Linked DNA regions of Homo sapiens: region 1 is linked to region 2. Evidence: promoter capture Hi-C in human tissues and cell types (Jung and others, 2019). All regions are on one chromosome and are shown on one strand. The core of a region is centred on a gene start or on the middle of the fragment in contact, and the rest is flanking DNA. Distances in the headings are between cores, read along the strand shown.

Region 1 (7,697 bases), core at 662-3,161, 300 kb before region 2:
GAGGGTTCTTAATGTCATCATTAGGTTCCAGTATGTTCCATGAATGCAAAAATATGAAGAAACCAATGGAAAATTAATCTTAGTAATTTAATTATAATACTCTAACAAGCATCTTATTGAATAGCTTCTGAGTGTTCATATGGGCACATAGATGAATAAGATGCAGTTCATGCCTTTGAGGAATGGTTAGTCAACACATCGTCAACAGGAGTTGTATTGGTTCTCCTGGGATGTGTTGAATTGGGTCAAGAAATTCTGGGTCCTAGTCCTAGTTCCTGTAATATTTGGCTGTGACACTGACCTTCAGTTTGCTCAACCAAGAAATAGATTTAATAAAACATATTTTGCTCCCTCCTTAAAGTGGTTCATTCGATCTATAGGTTAGAGCCGTGTTAGTTACAAGGGATACAGCTGTGAATGAAACTGAGTCTGCCCCATGGAACATAGATCAGTTGGTAAGCTATGGATTTGATTTTCCTGGGATAAATGTTACAGTGTGGGTGAGAAGTGAGAAATAGATACTGTTATTCACCTCAGACAGGAGCCTGAATAAATGGCTTTATTTTCTATCCTCCTCTTCTTTTTATATTAAATTGAACTCAGAGAATAAAAAAGCATCTAGACCACCCATTTGCCCACTATGCTTCCTGAATACAGAGAGATAGCAGAGATGGGAACTGTGAGGTCTCTCTAAGGGACAGCCATATGTATTTTGCAAAGTGTTCTCTGGGCTTTAGGAGATAACGTTGGTTGGAGGATGCTGGTGGCAGCTGCTGGGAACTGAAAAGGATTGAGAGTATATAATGATACTCCCAAAATGATGGGTTGAGCATGGGATAAATGGCATTATTTCAAAAGCACATAGAAATAATAACTATATTACTAAATATTTAACAGCCTTCTAAAATAATATAGGGGCATCTCTATAGGCTAGAAACAGAGAAAGAAAACAGTAAACCATCAGCAGTGTGTATATTAGGGACAGACACTTAAATGAATATATTTAATAGTCTATATGAGATAAAAGAATGAATAAAATTCATTGATTTTTGAACAAGGACAGTGATTATGAAGGAAGAACAAGCAGTTAATTTGTTATTTTAACAAGTGCAACATTCTGAAGATTATAGAAGAGTAAATCTGTAAACTCTAAGGTTAATTATTAAAAGATAAAGAGGTAGAAAAGTTGAAAGTAAAGATAAGTAGAGGGGACAGAGCAAGAAGATACAACATAGGGGTTAAAAAAGATAAAATAAGGTGCTGGAAAATGACATGTGAAAATTTACTGCCTGAGATATTCCCAGAACTGAGGAAAGACTTGAGCTCTCAGAACAAAAAAAAAGATCTACAAAATGGAATTCAAAACAAAACAAAACAAAATCAAACCTGGGCACAATGTAGCACTGCTTCAGAATAAGCTCCGAAAGGGAAACCTAACAGCTACCATAGAGGAAAAGCAGATTACCTCCAAAGGGGTACAATCAGTGCCATCAACTTCTCAGGAGCCACATCAGATGCCATGAGACAATAAAGAACCAGCCTCAAAGTGCTGAAGATATGTATCTTTGAAGCTGAAATTCCATATCTAGCCAAGTCTGTGTTTTAACAAGCCTTCTAGGAGATCCTGAGGCATGCTGAAGTTTGAGAACCACTAGGCTGCAGCATGCTCTCCACAGACATCTAAGGGAGGACTTTTCCATTCTCAATGACTCACTACTAACTCCTTTGCTCCTGCAAATGCCTGGAACTTGGCTTGCCAAATTCTGCTCACTTTTGCCAACACCTGGAGTGGGTGGCATAACAGGGATATATCTTAACCTAAACGAGTGAAATCACAAGGGGGTTGAGTTTCAGACATTCGTAAGGTAGGTTGGAGTGGGACAAGGAGGGGCTGAGATAAGAGGCGTTATTTGGGGATCCAGATGGCTTTCCAGCAGCCACCTACATTATATGGGATGTCGCTTACTTGGGAAACAGACTTGGTCTGTGGGGAAGTGAGTCATCCTCATCTTCCCTCAGCCTCAGTACTCTAGAAGTGGAGGCTTCTCTGGCTGAGCGTGTGTCTGTGTGTTTAATGATTTCTTTGCACCAAGCCAGAGGTTGAAAGAAAGTTTGCAATAAATGTATATAAAGGGCGTGAGACCTACTTGCTTGGTTTTCAAAAGGTTTATTTTCATTCTTTCTGGGAGATGCCCTGAAGAAACTCTTTAGAGATCTTTCCTGCCAGCTAGTTCAGGTATTTACTGTCTGGCTTTTCTAGCTCTGAGTCCAGTTTTCTGCCTGAAGGACTTTTGTCATTTTTGAAGTGTTTATTTTTCCCTTTGGGTAAAAGTGAAGAAAAAATGTGACTTTCTATCAGTTAGCAGTGGAGAAGTGGTTTGAAGCTTTGCTTTTCAAACACAGTGGTGATCAGAGTTGTCTCATAGGGACCCAGAGCCCGGAACTAAGAGGAGTGGGTGGAAGATGGTCTGGAAGCCTGCAGCATCACTGTGTACTGTGCCTTGGGCTCAGTCCGAGGTTAGATTGTCTTACTCATCTGACAAAGAAATGCGTTTTGGATGCAGGGACGAATGAATAAGTGTTCTTATTTTCTGGTTGATTTGGTTTCTGTTTCCTGGCACCTAAGGCAAAATGATCAGTCCCTTGATAAATACTTTAAAATCTTTGTATAGCATCCTATAGCATGCAGAGCGCTTCTATGCTCACTGTTTTTGACTGAGCCTCCCAGGGGCACTCTGAAACTTGGATAAAAAGTGTCACCCAGTTCCGCCTTTGGGACAAAGAAGCTGAATCTTGGGAATGTTTAAAAGTATACATTCAGGAAGGTGCTGAATCTGGACCAAGAGTCTGTCTCTTTAGATTTTCTCCTCACTTAGGCAGGTAATGGAGCAAATTCATCTACCTTCCATTCAGGGCAGGGGAAGGAGAGAGTTTACTAGAAAACCATCACCATGAGAGTGATAAGGTCCTTGCTGCTATGGAGAGAATGAATTATCTGGTCCCTGCTTGGCCCCTTGTGTCATTACCAACTGGTAACAACCTGGAGGCAAGGGGAATAAAGAATTTGTCATCTCAGTCTCCAACATTAATTCCTTGAAAGGGGTCTGAATACAATAGAGAAAATTGTATTTTCAGCCATGCTTGCTCAAAAAGTAACGCTATTTAAATCAAGGGCATAACATTAAATCACAATTACAATTCGATGAAAGTACCTGGAGAGGAAAAGGATAATGTAGTGTGGGTTTGGGGTGAATCAAGATTAAATAGTCACTGTTGATTATGATAAAGAAGGAGAGAGTAGTGAAATAGTTACTTCTGGAAAATTGCGATGCTACCACTGGGTATCCAAAGGCTACACAGGGTAAATTTGGAATCCGTTTTTCATTTTCCTTACTAGTTGTTCTGCACTGGTTAATAAATATAACTTTGCCTCTCACCCCCATCTGGGGTACAGGAGAAAGTGATCAAAGGATCACATTTTAAAAATGGGTTTTATTATTTAAATGACTGGTCTTCTCTTTTTATTACTATTGTTTGAAAACAGCTGAGATCTTTTTTTTCTGATTACCATGCTACAGATGTTTATTGCAGAAAGTTTGGAAAAAACAGAAAAGCATAAAGAATGTAAAAATCACCTGTAGTTCTACCACGCGAACAGCAGTAATATTAAGGTGGTATTGTATTTACATCTAAAATTTCATCCCCACACCCATACACAATCCGCTAATTATCCCAGTTCTCATCAGCCTAGGGTGGCTACTAAAGCCACATTAGGGAGAAGTCTTTCTTTTCTTCTCTTTATACCCTGTCCTCTCTTTGGAGGGACACATTGCCAAGGCTTAAGGAAGGTGGTGAACAGTGCATCCTGATTTGCTAGGGACTTTCTGGTTTTAGCATGAAAAACTCTACATCTTGGGAACACCTCAGTTCTAGGCAAACTGGGATGGCAAGTTTACCTCTAACTCCTCCTCCCACCGCATCAGCAGAAAGCAAGACTGATTCGGTCCTGGAGAGCTGGTGGGAGGCTGGCACTTGGCGGCCATGTTGCTCTGTTGAACAAGGCTAATGTGCTAAGGTCACTGCTCATTCTTCTCAGGGCTCTTGCTTCCTGTTGGGTCTGTGCCCAGGCACAGTGAGTCTCCTGAGCTCACCATTCCCTGCCTGCCTCAGCAGCACCTAAAGCAAAAAGGCAAAGCAGTGGATTGGTTAATAAGTTAGTCCTGCTATGCTGGTCCATCTACCTTCCATTCAGGGCAGGAGAGGGAGACAGTTGACTAGAAAACCATGACCTTGAGAATGATAGGGTCTTTGCTGATATTGAGAAAATAAATTCTCTGGTCCCTGTTTGGCTCATCAAGCCTGTTGCCAGCTGATTACAACCTGGAGGCGAGGGGGAATGGGTATTTGTCGTCCCATCTCCAACATGCAAGTGCCTTGATGCGCAGATCCCTTTAAAGCAATGAGAAAACTAAGGGTTTTTGATGTGGATGCTAGGTTGAGTTCTAGTGTAATATAGCTCATTGTAGTATTATCAGACATGAGCTGAATGCTTTGTATATTGTGAATTGAAACATATGAGAGAAATTTTTATTTGCTGGGGAGACTGATTAGAAAATCAGTGAATTTGGGTAGTAATGGCTTGTGATTCTTGCAACAAGCTGGTGGATTTCCTAAGGGCAGGGTATGACTTGAGTTGGTGGCTCTGGCTCAGTGAAGGCTGAATCAAGGTCAAACAAAGATGAGGCCTCTCACTGGAACCAGCTTTGGCAGTCATGGAGCAGGTGTGCTAGTGTACTATCTTCCCTCTGCTCGCTTTTGCCTCTGTAGCTCCACCATCCTCCCTTTTCCCACACTTTATCTAGACACCCGGCACCAGCCCTTGAGGAACTCTTCAAGCCCTAACCATGCTTCCCATCAAAACTGACCGTCCTGAGGTCCCTTCCCTCAGGGGGTGGTACAAACAGCAATGACGAATCGAGCCTGCCCATCTGGGTGAATTTAGTGTCTTGGCAGCTCCTTCTGCCTATGCCCAAGGTCCCCACCCTCCTCTAAGAGCCTGGCACTGATACTTTCTGAATAGGAGTTTTACTGCGTTCTGACTCCCATCTTCACTTTGTCTCTTCTTCCTCTTTCTGATTTTCCCACGTTCTATCCTGTCTCCTTCTCTGCCTGGGAACTTCAGAGTCAAGGTTGAGTTGGATGGTCTTCCTGACTGGTTTTGGTCTCTACCCAAATTTCTATGAGTTTTATTTTTTATTTATTTATTTTTTTAAACTACCCCACATCTCTTGATTCCTGCCCAATCTTCAAGCGTTCTAAACCACCAAGGCCAACAGCACCTGAGAAACCAGCAGAAGCCCATCTCTGGCAGCCGTACCAGCCGGCCCATACTCAGAGCAGAGAGCAAGGAATTTGCTTGGTTCCCAAGACAACCATCACAGATCTAGAGGGGGAAGCTGTTCAGTGACAGAGCAATGGGTTTCTCTACTGATTCCTTTCACTGGGGTTCTTGTGGCTTAAGAGATGGGCCCCAAAGGGAGGTTAGATATGGAGCCAGCATATTAGATCACACAATGACTGGAATTTGTTCTGTCTCTCTGCAACACAGAAAGCAGTTTCACAGCCATAATCTCTATGCTCACACCAAAGGCCTATGGGAGGGACAGCCATGGGCAGGAGGCTGATGCAGGCAAAAGAGCATCAGCTGTGAAGCCTGGCTGTTCAGGCTTCAAATTCTGACCCAGTGAGTCACTAGCAGAGTAACCTTGGACAGCTACTAAACCTCTCATCTAAATTGAGGAAAATGCCTTTCTCACAGGGTTAGGAAGATTAAATTATGTAATGCATTAATACACTCATCAGGGTATGTGGCCTATTAAATAATAGGTGTTACTACTGTGTCTTTTTTTAAAGTTTATTGTGGGATCAGAATATTGACAGAGCTGTATCGTTAAGAGCAGTATTCCCCTTGCTAAAACTAATAGGCAGCCCAAGCCTGGCTCCATCCAACCACCTCTTCCAATGCTCTTTAACTGGTGGTGCTTTATGACACCAAGCAATAGATGATGATTATTGTTTCCACTGAATACAGTAAGTTCCTTGATTGGTTTAACATACATAGACTGCCTGAGAGAATAAAAACATCACCATATAATAGGTTAATGGTGAATTAAGGTCTTCGTAGTTGTGGCGGGAGAAAAGGGTTGGCTGCTGGAAACAGTATGGTACCCTGGAGGCTGCATATGTACACACTTAAGAATTCACATCACCTTTAGCAGAAGATTAGAATTCAATGGATATGAATGCTTATGCAGAATCTTCTCTCCCCCCGACATAAATTTCACAAGGAATCTCCTCCATTACTTGATCTTCTAGGGGCTGTTCAGGGCACTTGTGTCCCCGTTTGAAAGTGTAACTACTTTTCTTGAAGGTGCTATTAAATGTTTTCATTGGCTGTGGTTGTGCAAAGTCATTTTGGAAAGGAAGCTCCGTGGAACTGAGGTTGGTCCTGCTTTGTTTGACGCTGGAGGTCAGCGACCCACAGTGGTGGTCATGGATGCACTGGGAGGTGGTGGAGGAGTGCCGCGTCTTCTAGTGGTTGTTCAGTTCTTCTGACAAGTCTGCCAGATCTGCAGAAATGTCTTTGTCCCTTAGCGAAAACAGTTCATAATAAGGAGGATCAAACATTTCTTGGAACCCGGTTTTATGAAAAGCAGTTTTGCAAGCCATGACCTTTTCTTGAGGCTGTTTCACTTGTACTAAAACAGAAATAATGAGAAAGACCAAGACAATCTCTGAAGTAATGCCAATAACTGTCCCATGAGTTTCAGTGATTTGTTCAGATAGTCCTGCCTTTTCTCTTTTCTTTACAATGATTTTCATCCCAAGGGTATACACAATTTTGGACACCATTACAGACTAAAGGATTATTGATGCACATGTTGCTATGGCAAAAGACAGTGCTGCCTGTGCAGGGAGCTGATGATCCAGCAATTTTACTTTTAGCTATATACTCCAAAGAATGGAAAGCAGGAATTCAGTTACTTGCACACCAAAGTTCACAGCAGCATTACGCACAATAGCCAGAAGGTGGGAACAGACAAAATGCCTTTTGATGGGTGGGTGGATAAACAGTATGTGTTATGCTCAACAAAGGAAGTAAAGAGAATTTGAGCTAAGCCGACTACCTTCATCTGCCCACATTTGTATCACGCCTATTCCTGTTTTAAGCATTCCATCATTGGCCACAGTGCTGCGAAACTTGGCCTTCAGGTTTTCAATAGAACTGCTTTCATCGTAGACTGCAACAATGTCTCTCTTGGATTCATTTGAGTGCTCCATTGGATAATCTAGGAACCTCAAATCCTAGCTTTTGGAGTGGCTTTCATGGTCCAGATGCAATCAACGGCTTGGCCAGGTTTTGTTTTCTCTTCTTGTTGTACCTGACTAGAGTGCACTATTCCATCGGCTCCCAAGAGCTGAAACCCACAATCTCCTAGGTAAGTAAAGTCTGGATCTGGAATAAATGAATATTAGTTCTTTTCATCAGAACTAAACTTAATCCACATGAATCTCCCTGTTGATCTGATTAATGGAGGGTTTTTCATGCCGCAGTAATAATCTATAAGGGGAGAGAAACCAAATGGCCCATCTGGAACTTCCAAGGGATCAAACCGACACTCAAATGATGGCTCTAT
Region 2 (7,024 bases), core at 1,276-3,775:
CAGTGTGATGGACTCTTTTGTGGCAATGAATCTAAGTTTCACATTTGAGTTGACATGCTACACAGCAGAGATCCGAGATGAAGCTGTGACAGCCCAGAAGGAAAGTGACTGTGACTGCAACCACATAATCTCCCAGAACACGCAGACATCTGGGTGTGCACTGTGGGAGGAGCCTTGGATTTCCCCAGAGCTTGGAATGATCTAGAGGGTATCAACACCCTACTGGGGAAAGGAGTAATAAAATGCAGGTAATATTTTTTTCTCATCCTCTCAGTGTTGTCATAAGGATAAAATGCAATAACTTCCTCGAAACAGCTCAGAAAAGCCTAGATCATTTACAAACATAAGGCATTGTTTATGTTATAATTGCCGTGGCATCATGTTGGAGCCGTAACTGTCCTGAGAAACCATCTCACCAGACGTCTTTTCATTTTATAGATGAAGAGACTCAGGACTGACAGGAGCCTGCCAGAAGTCACACAGGCCTTTACTGAAGGGCCAGCACTCAGACGTAAACTTTCTAATCACGGTCCCTGATGCTTCCCTGAGAGCCAGGCCCACAGAAGCCCTGCATCCTTTGCTCCTCAGAGGTGCACCTTCTGCTGCCCTGTCCAGGCTCTGTGGAGTTGCAGGAGACTGGCAGCTCTGCAGAGTCCCTGGGTAGCATCACTGTGGCTTCATCAAGGCCGCGATGTTGTTCCTTCTTACATCGTTCTCAGTGAAAACCAGCCTCTGTGCTTGACACTGTTGGGTTGTCTGCAGCTTTCTGGCCTTTTCCTCCTCCAGGTCTTCATCATAGCCATGAGCATGTCACCTGCATACGTGCAACTTGGATAGGTTCTCTCAAAATATGTTACTCCACGCTTGCCCGTGGTGAGGCGTACCTACCCCTTTTTCTCTACTCATCCACCCTTGTAAAATCTCCCCTGATTAATACAATACCCCAGGAAAAAAGTAACAATTTTTCAACAGCCTTGGGTCCAAATCATCATCTGTATCATTTCCTCATTAAGACCTTTCTAAGAACTGTTGAATAAAAATGATTTCTTCTATTTTAGGCCGGGTACGGTGGCTCACGCCTATAATCCCAGCACTTTGGGAGGCTGAGGTGGGTGGATCGTTTGAGGTCAGAAGTTTGAGACCATCCTGGCCGTCATGGTGAAACCCCGTCTTCTCTAAAAATACAGAAATTAGCCGGGTGTGATGGCAAGCACCTGTAATCCCAGCTATTCTGGAGCCTGAGGCACGAGACTCACTTGAACCTGGGAGGTGGCGGCTGCAGTGAGCCAAGATTGTACCACTGCACTCCAGCCTGGGCTATAGAGTGAGACTGTCTCAAAAAAAGATTTCGTCTATTTTAAAGTCTGAGGGTGGGCACAGTGGCTCACGCACGTAATCCGAGCACTTTGGAAGGCTGAGGCAGGAGGATCGCTTGAGCCCAGGAGTTTGAGACCAACCTGAGCAACATAGCGAGGCCCCGTCTCTACAAAAATAAGAATAAAATTGATCTGATAGGTAGCTAAATAGACACATAGAATACATCTATATCTAATACATATTTCATATATGATATATGATATATAACCTTAGGGATGATTACATTTGCCTCAAAATCCATCTCCAAAAATTACAATGTGGGATTCTGGACTGGCTCCTAGAACAGAAAAAGACATTCGTGGAAAAACTTGTGAAATCCAAATAAAGCGTGGAGCTTAGTTAATAGTAATGCTGCATTTTCAGTTTCTTCATTTTCATAAATGTACCATGGTAATATAAGATGTTACCATTAGGGAAAACTGAGTGAGAAATTTAAGAGAACTCAATTATCTTTGCAACTTTTCTGTAAAATAAAAATTTATGTTTTAAAAGTCTAACAATCTTGTGAGAGGCCCCACATTTTCTATGAGTTCCTGAGGCAACTTCCTCATGCTTTTTGTCTCTATAATCCCCCAAAATTTTACCAGTCTCTCTTCTTTCTCCTCCCTCTGTCTCTGTCAAACACACACACACACACACACACACACACACACACACACACACGCATGCTCACAACATGGAGTTCAAGCAACAAGGTCAACCTGGCTACAGCGACCACTGAGTACCCAATCTGCCAACAGCAGAGACCAATGCTGAGTCCCCAATATATGGCACCATTCCCTGGGGTGACCAGCCAGCTACCTGGAGGCAGGTTGATTACATTGGACTGCTTCCATTGTGGAAGGGAGGGGAAGCATTTTGTCCTTACTGGAATACACATTTGCTCTGGATATGAACTTGCCTTCCCTGCACACAATGCTTCTGTAGAATCTATTATCTATGGACTTACAAAATGCCTTGTCCACCTTCACGATGGTCCACACAGCATTGCTCTGATCAAGGGACTCACTTCACAGCAAATGAAGCGCAGCAGTGGGTTCGTGCTCGTGGAATTCACTGGTCTCACGGTGTTCCCAACCGTTCTAAAGCAGCTGGCTTGACGGAATGGTGGAATGGCCTTTTGAAGTCAGTTACAGGCAACCTCACCAACTAGGTGACAGTACTTTACAGAAGTGGGGCAAGATTCCACAGAAAGCTGTGTATTCTTTGAATCAGCATCCAGTCAGGTGCTAGTCAGGACTCATGGGTCCAGAGATCAAGGGGTAAAAATGGGATGGCACCACTTGCTATTACCCCTAATGACTCACTAGCAAAATTTTTGCCTCTTGTTCCTTTATTATCCTGTTAGCCTAGAGATCTTAGTTCCAAAAAAGAATGCTTCCACTAGCAGATACAACAGTGATTCCATTGCACTGAAAGTTAAGGCCACAGCCAGCCACTTTGGGCTCCTCATACCTCTGAATTGACAGGCAAAGTTTTGGTGTTGTCTAGGGCGACTGATCCTGACTACCAAGGGGAAAATGTGCTACTATTCCACAATGGAGGCAAGAAAGAATATGTCTGGAATACAGGAGATCCCTTAGGGCATCTCTTAGTATTACCATACCCTGTGATTAAAATTTGTGATTAAATTCATGGAAAACTACAATAATCCAATTCACGCAGGACTACTAATGGCCCAGACCCTTCAGGAATGAAGGTTTGGGTCATCCTACCAGGTAAAGAACCTCAACCAGCTGAAAGGTTTGCCAAGTACAAAGGGAATTCAGAATGGGTAGCAGAAGGTAGTTCTAAGTATCAGGTACAACCATGTGCCCAGTTACAGAAATGAGGACTGTTATTGTCATGAGTTTATTTTGTGGTGAACATATTTGTGTACATATATGTACATTGCCTCACACAGAACATTTCGTGACTCTAGAAATTCCCTGGAGATTTGGTGGAGGTTCCAGCGCCCAGTAGACCTACAGCCATCACCATTCCCTCTCCCCTCCTGCTCCCCCGGGGAAATGATCGACATTTCTTGCACTTTCTTATTAAGAATTGTTATGCAAAAACACAAGTTCCCCAAACCTTTTCTTCTAGCACACACTTCCTGGGGGTACTTTAGCAAACAGAAGAATTCCAGGGCCAGTTGAGAACACAAGTATGTTCATAGCGGCTATATTCATAATACGCAAAAGTTGAAAACAACCTAAATATCCAACAGCCATAAAAAGGATAACTAAATTTCAGTATATTTTCACAATGGAATATCACACAGAAACAAAAAAAAACTATGACCATGAGCAACAACATGAACTAGTCTCACAAACTGATGAGGGAAGGAACCAGACACAAGAGTACAAATTGTATCATTCCACATATATGAAACTCAAAGATACACAAAAGGTGATAAAAGTCAAAATAATGGTTGCCTCGGCTGGGCACGGTGGCTCACACCTGTAATACCAGCACTTTGGGAGGCTGAGTTAGATCATGAGGTCAGGAGTTCAAGACCAGCCTGGCCAAGATGGTGAAACCCCATCTCTACTAAAAATACAAAAATTAGCCAGCCATGATGGCAGGCACCTGTAATCCCAGCTGCTCAGGAGACAGAGGCAGAGAGCTGCTTGAACCTGGGAGGCAGAGGTTGCAGTGAGCCGAGATCATGCCACTGCTCTCCAGCCTGGGCAACAGAGCAAGACTCCGTCTCAGAAAAAATAAAAAAACGAAGAATGGTTACCTCTGAGGAGGGACATTAATTAGGAAGAAGCACAAGAGTTTCCTGAGGCTACTGGAAATGTTCATTTCAGACATGTGTAAGCACATACATACACACACACACACACACACACACACACACACATTGTATATGATTCTTCCAATTTCGTGAGGACATCTGAGAAAGGGAAGGGTTGAGGGGCTATTTCATAAATATAGCCCAGCTGGAGCAATGATTTTGCGGGGAAGGGGAACATAGACTCACTAACTAGCCAGGATCCTTTTAGACTATTCTCTCTGTAACTTCTCATTAAAAACACATTTTATCTCAGAATAAATTTCAGTTTATTTCATCCTTTTTCTTGGTGTTTGAAATGGATTGAGAGATCTCAGCAGGTACAAGTTAATTTAGAGGGCTGTATCAGATGGAATATAATTAACTTCTCAGATTTCAAGTTACTCAAATCCCACACATGGGCCTCTTAGTGTCCCACCATTCTTCTCATTCATATTCACAGATGCTGGAGAGGTGGCAGCAAGAATGGAGAATCTGATTGAGCTGTGACCAATTCATGTTCCCTACAGGACACAACAGGTCTGGAAATTTGATTACAGCTCAGTCTTTAGAGACAAATGACATCTGACTGAAAGGCTGAAACCCTTCTTCATGGATTTTTTTATAAAAAGGAACATTTTGGTAGATGACATTGCACCTGCAGAGGTGATAATAACAGGATGCTGAGCTGTGCATAAGTGGCAGGACTTACTGAAGGTGATGCTATTCTGTTTACTTTCTATGCACTGGATGCTCTCACTTTACCTTATTCAATCCTTGCATCAATCTCCGAGGGACTTCTTATTATCCCCATTTTTTCCTGATGAGAAAAGTGAAGCTCAGAATGCTTAGGCAACCTGTTCAAGGTCACTCAGCCAGTATCCTCAAAACTGATGTTCCTCCCTCCATGATTAAAAAGCATGGCTCTGGGAACTGTTATGCCTAGGCTGCTGGTAGGGGCTGTTCCACTGCTGTGATTGTCATTCACGGCATGAAAACTAGAGATGGGTAATTTGGGCTGAACTGAGGAACCCTAAAAAGATTAAAGGAAAAGCTCCAGCATGTAGATATAATTGTGGGTGATCCCCATAGTCTAAAGAACTCATTGAATTGATAGGCTGTGTTCTTGGATGAATACTGAGGCAATCAAGGGTCTAAGTTGCTCCAAGAAACTGGAAACTTAGCTCTTATAAGATGAATTCTTAAAATATGCTAGCCTGTTTTAAAATGAGAGAACTATTCACTACCTCCCACAATAAGGAGTAAGTGAAGATTCCTAAGAATAAAAGCACAGAGGCAAGAAAGAAGGAAATTTTACTAAGCATTTTTATGCTAAAGGAAGCTTACTAGGCATTTTTATGCTGTGCTTTCTAATAACAGTATATCTTTACATCTTTAATACATTATGGTGAGGGAATAGTTCCGGCCCCTCTTTGCAGCTAAGGAAGTCTAAGTTCAGAGAAGTGATGTAATTTGCCCAAAGCCACACTATATGGAAATGCTTGAATTAGTATAATGGAGAGAACACTGAAGTCGGACAGGCCTGAGTTTAAATTCAACCCCAGTAATTCCTTTTTTACTAACACAGAATAACTTACCTATTTGAGCTTCAGTTTTCTGGTCTAATAAATACTTTATCATTTAGGATGCTTTTGGTTACCTGTAATTGAAAACTCAAATGAAAATGGCTTAAATAAGGAAATGTTACTATCTCACAAAGTAAGAAGTTCCAAGCTCAGGTATCTTCAGGCTGAATTGAGTGGGTCTGTGATATCACCAGAGATCCAGGTTATTCCCAGTGCTCTGCTGTGCCATCCTCCGGCAGCCTCCCTGCCCACATGGTTGCAAGATGGCTGCCACAGTTCCAGGTATCACGTTCAGACAGGACAATATCCAAAGAAATGAGAGAGGCCAACTTCTCACATGTCTCTTTTAATCAACAAAGAAAAGCATTTCCCAGAAGCTCAACGTCAGTAGTTTGGTTCTCAAATCCCATTGTCAAGAACTGAGTCACATACTCATGTCCAAACCCATCATGGACAAGGAGAATGGGACAACTCTGGTTCATTTAGACTAATAAGAATTACTTCTGAAATAAATCCACATAGGGAGGGGTAGATTCCCAAACAAAATCAGGTTGTTTTACTCCCAGCAAGGAAGAAGTCTACTGGGTAGACTAACATGAGGGTCTTCTAGACAAGTTGCCTGGTAAAATACAAGACATTCAATTACCTTTGAGTTTCAGATCAGTTTCAGAGACGTAGAACATACTTGTATTAAAAAATGTGTTATTTAGGCCAGATGCAGTGGCTCACACCTGTAATCCTAGCACTTTGGGAAGCCGAGGCAGGCGGATCACCTGAGGTCAGGAGTTTGAGACCAGCCTGGCCAACGTGGCGAAACCCCATCTCTGCTAAAAACACAAAAAAATTAGCTGGGCGTGGTGGTGTGTGCCTGTAATCACAGCACTTGGGAGACTGAGGCAGGAGAGTCACTTGAACCCAGGAGGCCGAGGTTGCAGTGAGCCGAGATCATGCCACTGCACTTCAGAGCAAGACTCCATCTCAAAAAAAAAAAAAAAGTTATTTATTGTTATTTACCTGAAATGCGAATTTAGCTGCACAGCTTGTATCTGTATTTGCTAAATCTAGCTAGCCTACTTCTGGAGCTACTAAGGTAATTAAAGAGGAAAGAAACGTATGGAAAGTAAAATTTTATGTTCTGAAAACAGTGGCCCTCATTATTATTTAAATTTAGGAAAAAGGATGGCAGGGTTCTTTCCAAAAACACAAAGCAAAAGTGTGATGGTGTGGGGCAGTAAGAATGAGGCACAACTGGTGTTTTGTAATAGACTGTTATCTCTGTTCTTTGTTCACTTCTGATCTCAAT

The links. Contacts are between HindIII fragments. The study calls those that stand out against the background at their distance.
Region 1: a contact is called between a fragment that was not itself captured here and the fragment with the promoter of FER1L6 in region 2, in 1 of the 25 tissues and cell types used here (dorsolateral prefrontal cortex).

What each region holds. Positions count from the first base shown.
Region 1 is chr8:124,142,098-124,149,794 of GRCh38, reverse strand. The region is part of intron 1 of FER1L6-AS2 (FER1L6 antisense RNA 2); the gene reads left to right. It also overlaps the pseudogene LOC392268. Among named protein-coding and RNA genes, the nearest start is that of FER1L6-AS2, 26 kb to the left of the region's middle. The HindIII fragment of the contact is 6,836 bases long and covers 1-5,329 here.
Region 2 is chr8:123,847,488-123,854,511 of GRCh38, reverse strand. It overlaps FER1L6 (fer-1 like family member 6), which reads right to left and starts at 2,525. Exons shown (of 41, transcript NM_001039112.2): 1 at 2,327-2,525. RefSeq lists a silencer at 2,813-2,961. The HindIII fragment of the contact is 12,305 bases long and covers 1-6,256 here.